Regions from separate parts of the Homo sapiens genome. Here all the other regions are linked to region 2. Evidence: promoter capture Hi-C in human tissues and cell types (Jung and others, 2019). All regions are on one chromosome and are shown on one strand. The core of a region is centred on a gene start or on the middle of the fragment in contact, and the rest is flanking DNA. Distances in the headings are between cores, read along the strand shown.

Region 1 (2,700 bases), core at 181-2,680, 50 kb before region 2:
CCCCAGGAGGTGGCTAGTAGGCTGACTGTGAGACTTAGGTAGCTGGGCACGGGTTCAGCCACACTGAGGACTTCTCTCTCACCTTATTTATCCTCAACAGTAACTTGCTGGTTGAAGCCGTAATACCCTGGTTCCATGGAGCAGAGAAGTGGGGCTGATGTGGTGAAGGCGTTTGTCCAGGAGGGACAAAGCAAAAATAGAACCAAACCATGATGACAAGCTGATGGGCTGGGGGAGAAGTCTGGTGATGGATTCCTTGCTTAGGAAGTGAGGCAGGTACCAGGGACATGGACAGGAGCCTGCCCAAGCAGGCTTTGATCCCTACCTTTCTTCATCTTTCCTCTTTGGCCATGTTGTATTAAAAACTGAAATCTTGGCTGGGCGCCGTGGCTCACACCTGTAATCCCCATAGTTTGGGAGGCCGAGGCAGGTGGATCACTTGAGATCAGGAGTTCGAGACCAGCCTGGTCAACATGGCAAAACCCCATCTCTACTAAAAATACAAAAATTAGCCAAGCGTTGTGGTGCACGCCTGCAGTCCCAGCTGCTCGGGAGGCTGAGGCATGAGAATTGCTTGAACCCAGGAGGTGGAGGTTGCAGTGAGCCAAGATTGTGCCACTGCACTCCAGCATGTGTGACAGAGCGAGACTCTGTCTCAAAAAAAACACAAACAAACAAACAAACAAAAACTCAAGTGAAGTCTTGCCCTAGCCAGGAAACTGTTGTGATAAAGGAGCATCGGGGCCGGGCGCAGGGGCTCACGCCTATAATCCCAACACTTTGGAAGGCCAAGGCAGGTGGATAATGAGGTCAGGAGTTCAAGACCAGCCTGGCCAAGATGGTGAAACCCTGTCTCTACTAAAAATCCAAAAATTAGCTGGGTGTGGTGGCAGGTGCTTGTAATCCCAGCTACTTGGGAGACTGAGGCAGAGAATTGCTTGAACCCAGGAGGCGGAGGTTGAAGTGAGCCAAGATCGCACCACTGCATTCCAGCCTGGGCGGCAGAGCGAGATTCCATCTCAAAAAAAAAAAAAAAAGGAGCATCGGAAGGAGGGATTGCAGTATGAATTCCCTAGATGGGCAATTTCCTGTACTTCATCAGGCAATCCCTGAGCCAAGGGTGGACATCCCTAGAGGTCTGTCAGCCTAAGACCAAACAAATGGTAGAGCGTCTCTCAACACGCTGCTCAAATCCAGTGTGGTTTGACTCTAGAGTAACCTCGTCTTTTCCTCTCCCCTTTTAAGTGCAAGTCTGTACTGCGGCAGGACTGAGTCTGGGTATGTGGCTGGGCAGCCAGCCGTGCATGCTGCAGCTGGGTGATCACTGTGATTCTTGGTGTGATCCAAGCCCGTCCTCTCTGCTTCTCTGTACTATTGCTCTGGCTCCTGGCCCTCTCCTTGCTATGGGTCTTACCCTCAAGTCGCTCTGTGATTCAAAGATGAACTGCCAATCAAATGTTCCTCTAATGAAAGATCCAATCACTCTACAGCATGTGTGTATTCAAAGAACCTATCTAAGACTTTCTTTTGGTCATGGTGGGAGGCTGTTGCTGAAAACATACCAGAGCCCATTGTGGAGGTCAGCTGACAGGCCGCATGACCTTGGCAATGGACTACTGGTCATCTGGGACTGCTTAGGACTGTGCAATGGAACTTGGGGGCAAAACTGATGGAGACAGCCAATGGGCCTTAAATCCAGCAGGCAAAGACAGAGTAAGTTCTTATTTGTGTAGCCCAGGGCTTATCAAAGTGTGGTTCTTGGACCACGTGCATCAGTATCAGCTGTAAGTATTTGGCAAAATGCAGATTCCCGGGCCCTGCACCAAACAGATTGACTTTGAATCTCTGGGGGTTGGGCTAAAAAAAAAAAAAAAACCCTACATTTTAAACAAGCTCTTCAGATGACCCTTGTGTAAGTTTGAGAGCATCTGCTGGAAAACCACTAGAATTTGCAAACGGCCACCTCAAAATACTCCAGCCAGTCCCACTAAGCCAAAGACCAGAATCTGAGAACAGGGATGGGGAAATTATTCCTTTCTGTGGATGATTATGCAGCTGGGCCATGATTTCACACCCGGGGGCCATGGGCTAAGATGGAGGGGAAGGAAGGAATGTAATGTGTGCCCTCTACCTCTTCACCAGGCATCATCCTCTCACTGGCCCTGGCTGGCATTCTTGGCATCTGTATTGTGGTGGTGGTGTCCATTTGGCTTTTCAGAAGGAAGAGGTGAGCTGGTTTGGGTCCAAAATGGGAATGGACAGCTATGTGTCCATGATGATTAGTCTGCCTGGGAAGGCAGCTTTGTGGCATGAAGAGCCGCAGTCACCTGGACCACCACTTACCCTAGGAGGGCCGTCCCCAAAGCACCCGTGCCCTGGCCTCCTTTGCATGAGACGCACATGTGACCCTGGTCGTTCAAAGGGTTCAGGGGTCACTGTGCTCAGATTTGGAAGCGTGTGTGCCTTGCTTGCTGCTATTGCATGGCCTTGGACGAGTCTCTTGACTTGGGGCTTGTGCCTGAAGTTAAGCAGCCAGGCTGTCTTCTTATCAAGATCTTTACATATGCTTTTTGGTCTATGAATTCAAAAAGAAAGATGAAGGAAAACCTGATCTCTCACTCACATTAACTCTTCATGCCCTTTGTCCATGTTTTTATTGTGACATTTGGCTTTTCCTAAAACCTAATTTATTTGGGGGGG
Region 2 (2,700 bases), core at 89-2,588:
CCCAACAATTACTTTTTTCAATGACCCTGCTACTTGCAAGTACATCTGCAGACTCTATCTGCCAAGGACTATCTAGCTAGAAACTTGGTTATTTGCTACTCTTTCTAATCAATGCTCTGCCCATTGATGAGCCAAAACAAGAAAATACACAACCCTGATTACTGCAATTTTCATATTCTTAAAACTTACAAGAAATTATGGATTTACTGATCAGATATCTGCAAAGATGAGTATCTTTTCCAGAAAAATATCTACATCTCTATTAATAAAGTGACTGGTATAAAATTCAACTTGAAAACCTGTGTTCTGATCTGGATCAGTATCCAAGCCCTCCAGGTCTTACAGCACCCCTGGGGATTCTAATGATTATAGCAAGCTTTACAGACCCTTCCCAAATCTCTATTATTTTTAAAATGACATGCAGCGAAGCACTTTCAATACGTTTGTGGGAGGTGAAGAAACGCAGAAAAGCGGGAATCATTGGCCTAGTCTGGTGCCAAGAGAGACTCATCAGAGGAGGGGGGATGTGGTATGTGCAAGTAAGAGGCAGGTGATGACTGCGATGGGACACCAGAGTCCGGTATTTACCAAGCTCCCAGAAGGAGACGCACAGTCAGGTGCTTCGGTGTTTTTACAGGTTTCCACCCTTCGGCTGCACAACGGAACCATCCAAAAGGAGCTTAAATTTTTTTTTTTTTTTCTGAAGCCCGAATCCCATCCCCTAGACATTCTGATTCAATGGATCGGGGTGGGGGTGGGCATCGGCATGTTTTAAAGCACCTGGCCACAGGTGATTCTAATAGGCGGAAGTCGCGCACTACTATCCTAAACGCCAATGGTTTTTAACCCTTTGGGGATTACACATGCCTTTGAGAATCTGAGGGAAATTAGGGACTCCCCCTCCAGAAAATGAAGGATGCATATATGAACTTATCCATAATTTTTTTATACAACTTTAGTAGCTTCACGGATCACTAAACCCCACCCATGAGCCCCAGGCAAAAGGCCCTGACCCCCAGTGTGCGCTTCTTCCTAAGAGGGCGAGGCGCCTTTGGGGAGCCGGATCTCCGCTCTCCCCCTCTCAACCCTCCTCCCGTCTGAAACGCAACAAGGTCGAGCCGCGCGGTGGGGGCGCCGAGGGTCGCGGGTAACCCCAGCGGGGGAGGGGAGCCCCGGCGTCCGGGTTTCCCGACGCGACCGCCTCACCCGGCGATGAGGAAGATGATACGCAACGGCTCGGTGGCGATGGTGAAGACATAAAGGGCGAGCGCAGGCCCGAAGGCAATGAAGGCGCAGCCGAAGAACACGGCCGCAGTCATGGCCACCGCGGAAACCGACCCGGGGGCCCGTTGGGGACGCGAGATGCTCCCGGCGCGGGCGGGGTTCGGTGGGTGGGGCTCGGGGTGGGGGGCTAAGCGGGACGCGGGGGGCGGGGCGCGGCTCATGGGCAGGCACGGGGACGGGGGCGGGGCTCGGGGGCGGGGCACGTGGGGGCGGGGGCGGGGCTCGGAGGCGGGGTACGTGGGTCGCGGGGCGAGGCGGGGCGTGGGGGTAAACGCTAGGGCCTGGGGGACTGGGCGGGGCGTGGGCTGAGGGCGCCGGGCGCAGGGGCGGGCTCAAGGCGGTGAGCGCGGACCCCACCGTTGGGCCCTCCGCCCTACCGGGTGTCCGGAAGCGCCAGGGCCACGCCGCAGCTCCTGCTCCCGAGGCGGGCGTCCTCGGCGACGTTAGGGCCCCAGCCATCGCCGCAGCCCCACAGATACACTCCGATCGGGTTCCAGTGCCGGCCGCGAGGTGGTTAAGAGAAGGGAAGCTCCCTAGCCCACCTTCGAGCCGCATGCACCGAGAACAGGCAGAGATTCCAAGTCAACCAAAGAGACTAAACAAAAATGTAGCGCAGGAACAAGCAGGATTCCTTTTTAAATAGGTTTTTTTTTTTTTTTAAGCACATTTTACCGTTTGGATAGTTGCGGGAACTTCGTACTCCATCCTGTATAAAACCTAGGCTGGGATAGCAGTGACCCCGGGGATAACCCACAGATGGTAAAATGATGAAAGAGTGGTGGAAGAAGCTGCCCTTCTCAGGGCTGTTTCAGCCAAATGGTTTTTATTTTTTTCCCAATTCTTCAAAAGGGTTGTTTTTGCAGGCATTCTGTGACCACCCTACAAGCAATAGTAACATCTCCCTGCTCCGTCTTCTCACAGTCGTCCATTTCACTTGCTTATTTTTCTTCCCCGTTAAAACGCGAACTCCTGGGGGACAGGGACTTTGCTTTGCTCTTTGTTGTTTCCTCAGCACCTAGAAGTTCACTAATATCTGTTCAATAAGTGAAATAATTTAAAAGGTGGAAGTTATAAACATCTATATTAACAATTTCTGAAAGGTTTAAAAATTAAAACTTAAGTTCTCTGATCATTCACATCCAAGTTAGATTTTTCTTTATGTTGAATAATACTTCGTCGGTTATTTTGATCAGTGTGCCTGACACAGGTAAGTGCTATGTAAGTATTAACCACTCCTACATAATGTCCATCATGAATAAAGATTTTGGCAATCCACATTTAAAAAAACACCAGTAGACAAATGTTGGGACCTGACAGATGTTTTGCAGCTCGCCCCTGAAAATGCACCTTCAAATAATACAACTGCAGGTATTTAATTCTTACAGAAAAACATTACCTTTGCCCATTTAAAAGTCA
Region 3 (2,700 bases), core at 124-2,623, 34 kb before region 2:
CCTATAAACATGTACATTTTAATAATTGTTTTCTTTATAAAAACTACAAATTCAACGTATTTAATAGATACAGAGGATGTCCAGTTAGCTCTAACATATAAAGAGCTTGGAAGCCATCACTCCCATCCTTACAAGAAAAAGCTAAGCAAATGGAAAAATCAACAATTCTTTTGAACCCATCAGAGAACTGAGGTCTCAGGGTAAACCACCACTCCAAAATCTGGAGAGAGAGGTGAATCCAGAGTCACAGCTGAGATTTGCTTACCTGGAGTGCAAGCTGCTGGAGCCATAAACTGGTAGTAACACTTAAATGCTAATGTTGACAAATTGCTGGAGTCTGAGTATGGACTAGTGTAAGGGTGAGAAATACTGTCTTCATTGTAAAATACATCCAGAGTGTTTTCCACAACAAAAGCCTCTCTCCAAGGAAAAAGACTTTACCAAAGCCGTAACCCAGCTGGGGAAAGTTACCTTTCTTCTCCAGCCACCTTCTAGCTTCCTGTCTTATCTAAGGGGGAAAAAGTTAAGAAACTCTCAGCCCAGGGATTCAGGCCCATGAAAATACTGAGATTTAGATTTTATTATTATAATTTTATTATTATACATGTCCCCTCCTCCACATCGCACTGCCATACCAACAGGGCTCTAGTGTTAATTTACAGTGGATTACAGCTGAACGAGTTGCAAGACACAGGCTTTCTCTGAAAAGGGGCACTGAGGGAACTCCACAGTCAAAAGGGGAGACAAAAACAAGACCACCAGAGGAATTCGAAGCCTCTGGCACTAACAGCCACAGCAAACATTAAATATAATCCAACTCCTACCTAGATTAACATAAAATTTACACTCAAGGCTTTTAAAATTCAGTTCCTATTACCCAAGAGGCGATGTCTAGCTTTCAACAAATAATTACAAGGCATATTAAGAGGCAAGAAAAAACAAAGTCTGCAGACATAGAAGGATATGCAGATTTTCTTTTCTTTTTTTTTTTTTTTTTTTGAGACGGAGTTTCACTCTTGTTGCCCAGGCTGCAGTGCAATGGTGTTATCTCAGCTCACCGCAACCTCCGCCTTCTGGGTTCAAGTGATTCTTCTGCCTCAACCTCCCAAGTAGCTGGGATTACAGGTGCCCATCACCACGCCTGGTTTATTTTTTGTATTTTTAGTAGAGATGGGGTTTCACTATGTTGGCCAGGCTGGTTTCAAACTCCTGACCTCAGGTGATCCACCCACCTCGGCCTCTCGAGTGAATTTTGTGGGTTTTTTTAAAAAAGGAATTTGTCCATTTACGTTTTAAAATTTATTGGCATTAAAGTTATCCATACTATCCTTTATTAATTTAATAATGTAGGGCCTATAGTGACGTCTCCTGTCATTACTGATACTTGTGCCTTCTCTTTTTTCCATCTGGCCAGAGCTTTACCAGCTTTATTGGTTTTTTTCAAAGAACCAGATTTTTGTTTCATTTTTCCCCATTGTTTTACTGCTATTTATTTGGTTCCTGTTCTTTTATGATTTCATTTCTTCTCCTTATATTAGCTTTAGTTTGCTCTTCTTTATCGAGTTTCTTAAGTAGAGGCTTAGGTCATTGATTTTGAATATTTTTCCTTACCTAATATAAGCATTTAACGTTAAGAATTTCCCTCTCTTGGCCAGGCACAGTACTCATGCCTGTAATCCCAGCACTTTGGGAGGCTGAGGTGGGCAGATCACTTGAGGCCAAGAGTTCAAGACCAGCCTGGCCAACGTGGTGAAACCCCGTCTCTACTACAAATACAAAAATTAGGTGGGCATGGTGGTGCGCACCTGTAGTCCCAGCTACTCGGGAGGCTGAGGCAGGAGAATCGCTTGAACCTGGAAGGCAGAGGTTGCAGTGAGCTGAGATCATGCCACTGCACCCCAGCTTGGTGACAGAGCGAGATTCTGTCTCAAAAAAAAAAAAATCAAAATAAATAAATAAAAGAATTTCCCTCTCTATTCCCTCTTTCAGGTCTTTGCTTTGGCAACTATCCTATCCCTCTCCTACGTCATTTTTTCCTTTCTATGGAGTCATTCTTATCTTAACATAAACATGCAGTTACAGTTACAGTCTACATCATAAGGAAAAAAAGAAAAAAAAACTCTCTTTCCCCCACATCCTCCTTAGGTTCATCATCCCACTGCTCTACAATACCTGTGTTCTCAATGCTGTGTCTACTTCCTCATCTCCTGTTCCGTACAATCCATTCTATTCAGGTGTTCACTCTGATTTCCATCTTGTTTTTATCAAGATCACCAGCAAGTTCCATCTCTCCATACAAAACAATCAATTCTCTCTCCTCTTCTTACCCATTATCCAGCAGCATTTGACATCCTTTCCCCACTGGCTGTCAAGCCACTGCACTCCTTTGGTTTTCCTTCCTTCTTCTCTCCTTTCCAACCTTTCAATTGACTGCCCCCAGGGTTCAGTCCTCAGCTATCACCTATCTATATCCACTACCCAGTGCCCTTCATCCACTTCTAAATTAAGCATCATCTTAGTAGTCAAGCTATTCTATATTATTCCATAATTTGTAGTGCATTTTGTAGTTGCCTTAAAATAATACTTAGGTGTTTTAATCTGTGCAGTTAGATTATATGTTTTCCAAGGACAAAGATCCCCACCATCTCGTTCTTTTCCATCCTTTTGAAGTGCCTAAGCAGTATTCTGTGCATGGTAAGC
Region 4 (2,700 bases), core at 186-2,685, 35 kb after region 2:
AAAAAAAAATCCTCATGATTAGGCCTGCCCCCTTCCCCAAATTCTGAGATTGTGACTTAATTAGTCAAGGATGGGACCTGGGCACTGGTAATTTTTAAAGTTTCCCAGATGATTCTAACCTGAAGCCAAAAGTTTTGGCTTTCAAAGGGCTATGCCTTTTGAAGGCCTCGGGCACTTCAAAAGTTCAACCCTTCCCTCACGTATTTCCCCCCACTATGGTAGCTCAAAACTTATTTATCAATTTCAAAGACAAAGAACCACAAAGCCCTTGACAAATATCAGCAAGCTCTATCATATATCAGGAATAAGCTTTCTGAGGAGACCAGTTAGTGAATACAACTTAGTTGCAATTTGCTAAATCGTCATCATCTGGCTACTCAGCTTTGTTTAGATTTTTCTATTCTTTTGCATTCTGTCCAGCAGGGTTTCTCAATCCCTGGGCCACAGACCAGTACTGGGCTGCACAGCAGGAATTCAGTGGCAGGCAAGTGAGAGAAGCTTCATCTATATTTACAGCTGCTCCCCATTACTTGCATTGCTGCCTAAGTTCAGCCTCCTGTCAGATCAGCAGTGGCATTAGATTCTCATAGGTGCTCAAACCCTATTGTGAACTGCCCATGTGGGGGATCTAGGTTGTGCACTCCTATGAGAATCTAATGCCTGATGATCTGTCACTGTCTTCTATCATCCCCAGATAGGACCATCTTGTTGCAGGAAAACATGCTCACAGCTCCCGCTGATTCTACATTGGTGAGTTGTATAATAATTTCATTATATATTACAATGTAATAAAAATAGAATATAAGTGCATAATAAATGTAATGTGCTTGAATCATTCCTAAACCACCCCCACCCCCACACCACCACCACCTCCAGTCCCTGGAGGAAAAACTGTCTTCCATGAAACCAGTCCCTGGTGACAAAAAGGTTGGGGACCACTGCTATATAGAACCCCTTAAAGTGGTTTCCAAGAAATTTCAGGAAAACACGTAAATTACATATCCTCTAAATTGACTTAAACATTAACTCCAGTTTTGTTTTGTTTTGTTTTTTGAGACAGAGTCTCACTCTGTCACCAGGCTGGAGTGCAGTGGAGCAATCTCAGCTCACTGCAACCTCCACCTCCCAGGTTCAAGTGATTCTCCCGCCTCAGCCTCCCGAGTAGCTGGGACTACAGGTATGCACCATCACGCCCAGATAATTTTTTGTATTTTTAGTGGAGACGGGGTTTCACCATGTTGGCCAGGGTGGTCTCAATCTCCTGACCGACCTCGTGATCCACCCGCCTCGGCCTCCCAAAGTGTTAGGATTATAGGCGTGAGCCACCCAGCCAACTCCAGTTTTATTTAGGTGGGGAGCATTCAACTGCTATGTTACTACAGTATTTTTTCATATAAACATTGAAAGCACCCAAAAGGCTGCTTCCTAGCTCCAGCTTTATACAATGCATAGACATAAACCAACCGAATTTCCTCCTTTTTTCTCTGTGTGGTACTTTTCCCCCACGGAGCCTTTTTAGATACTCTTGTGTCTTGAAATAGGCAACAATCACACCCAAGCTAATTTAGCAGAACACCTTCTCAACCATTATTTCCCCTCACTAACAACCATAAATTATTAATAAATATTAGGTTGCTGCAAAAGTAATTGCCATTAAGAATGGCAAAAACCGCAATTACTTTTGCAGCAACCTAATGCAATCTGATAACCACTATTCCCAAGTTATCTGGCTCATATTTTCTCCTCTAAGGCACCTCCCTCAGCATTTCAGGGTCTGTAAAGGTGACACAAAACTCAGCAACTCAGCATAAATATTACTGCTAGCATCTGACAAAATATACTGTTTCCATCACTCATTTAAGACTTAATAGACATTGATTTTTATTGTGATTTACGTTTTATATGCCACCAAATCCAGTGTAACAAAGACCCTCTAGGAATCCTCCTCTATCCTTTACCTCTCTTTGGGCCTGGCATCAAGAACAATGCCCAAAACCTGGTATGTACTCAATACATGTTTCTTCAGATTAACATTTTAAAAAAATTCATGACTTTCCAAATCCATAGAAACAGAAAGTAGTACAATGGTAGTTACCAGGATCTGGAAGGAGGGGGAAAGGAATAGTTGTTTAATAGGTATGGAGTGTCAGATTTGCAAGATGAAATAGTTCTACGGATCAGTTGCACCACAGTGTGAACAGGCTTGTAAAACTACTGAACTGTACACTGAAAAATGGTTAAGACTGTAACTTACATATTATGTTTTTACCAAAATAAAAAAAACAATGACTTTCAAAATGCCTACTGTATACCTGAATAAATTAATTAAAAGGCCAATGTCCAACATTTTACCACTTAATAATTCATTCACTTATTTTTTTTGAGATGGGTCTCCTTCTGTTGTGCAGGCTGGAGTGCAGTGGCGCGATCTTGGCTCACCGCAACCTTCGCCTCTTGGGTTCAAGCGATTCTCCTGCCTCCTGCCTCAGCCTCGCGACTAGCTGGGATTACAGTGTGCTCCACTACACCCAGTTAACTTTGGTATTTTCAGTAGAGATGGGGTTTCACCATGTTGACCAGGCTGGTCTCAAATTCCTGGCCTCATGTGATCCACCTGCCTTAGCCTCTCAAAGTGCTGGGATTACAGGTGTGAGCTAGCCTGCCCAACCTTCATTCACGTTTTAAATAAACGACGATGTA

The links. The method cuts DNA at HindIII sites, captures the fragments that hold promoters and counts their contacts. A contact is called where the count stands out against the background at its distance.
Region 1: a fragment that was not itself captured here is called in contact with the fragment with the promoter of APH1B in region 2 in 2 of the 25 tissues and cell types used here (H1 embryonic stem cells and mesenchymal stem cells).
Region 3: a fragment that was not itself captured here is called in contact with the fragment with the promoter of APH1B in region 2 in 4 of the 25 tissues and cell types used here (heart right ventricle, ovary, small bowel and 1 more).
Region 4: a fragment that was not itself captured here is called in contact with the fragment with the promoter of APH1B in region 2 in 5 of the 25 tissues and cell types used here (IMR-90 fibroblasts, bladder, lymphoblastoid cells and 2 more).

Annotation. Positions count from the first base shown.
Region 1 is chr15:63,326,676-63,329,375 of GRCh38, reverse strand. It overlaps CA12 (carbonic anhydrase 12), which reads left to right. Exons shown (of 11, transcript NM_001218.5): 9 at 1,246-1,278; 10 at 2,143-2,227. The region is part of intron 1 of LOC124903506 (a long non-coding RNA gene); the gene reads right to left. Among named protein-coding and RNA genes, the nearest start is that of APH1B, 50 kb to the right of the region's middle. The HindIII fragment of the contact is 3,476 bases long and covers 1-2,700 here.
Region 2 is chr15:63,276,243-63,278,942 of GRCh38, reverse strand. It overlaps APH1B (aph-1B gamma-secretase subunit), which reads right to left and starts at 1,338. Exons shown (of 6, transcript NM_031301.4): 1 at 1,207-1,338. The coding sequence starts at 1,319. It overlaps LOC124903504 (a long non-coding RNA gene), which reads right to left. Exons shown (of 2, transcript XR_007064674.1): 2 at 2,091-2,700. RefSeq lists silencers at 1,032-1,311, 1,392-1,811. The HindIII fragment of the contact is 12,664 bases long and covers 1-2,700 here.
Region 3 is chr15:63,310,193-63,312,892 of GRCh38, reverse strand. No RefSeq gene overlaps it. Among named protein-coding and RNA genes, the nearest start is that of APH1B, 34 kb to the right of the region's middle. The HindIII fragment of the contact is 5,043 bases long and covers 1-2,700 here.
Region 4 is chr15:63,241,030-63,243,729 of GRCh38, reverse strand. The region is part of intron 1 of RAB8B (RAB8B, member RAS oncogene family); the gene reads right to left. Among named protein-coding and RNA genes, the nearest start is that of APH1B, 35 kb to the left of the region's middle. The HindIII fragment of the contact is 3,635 bases long and covers 1-2,700 here.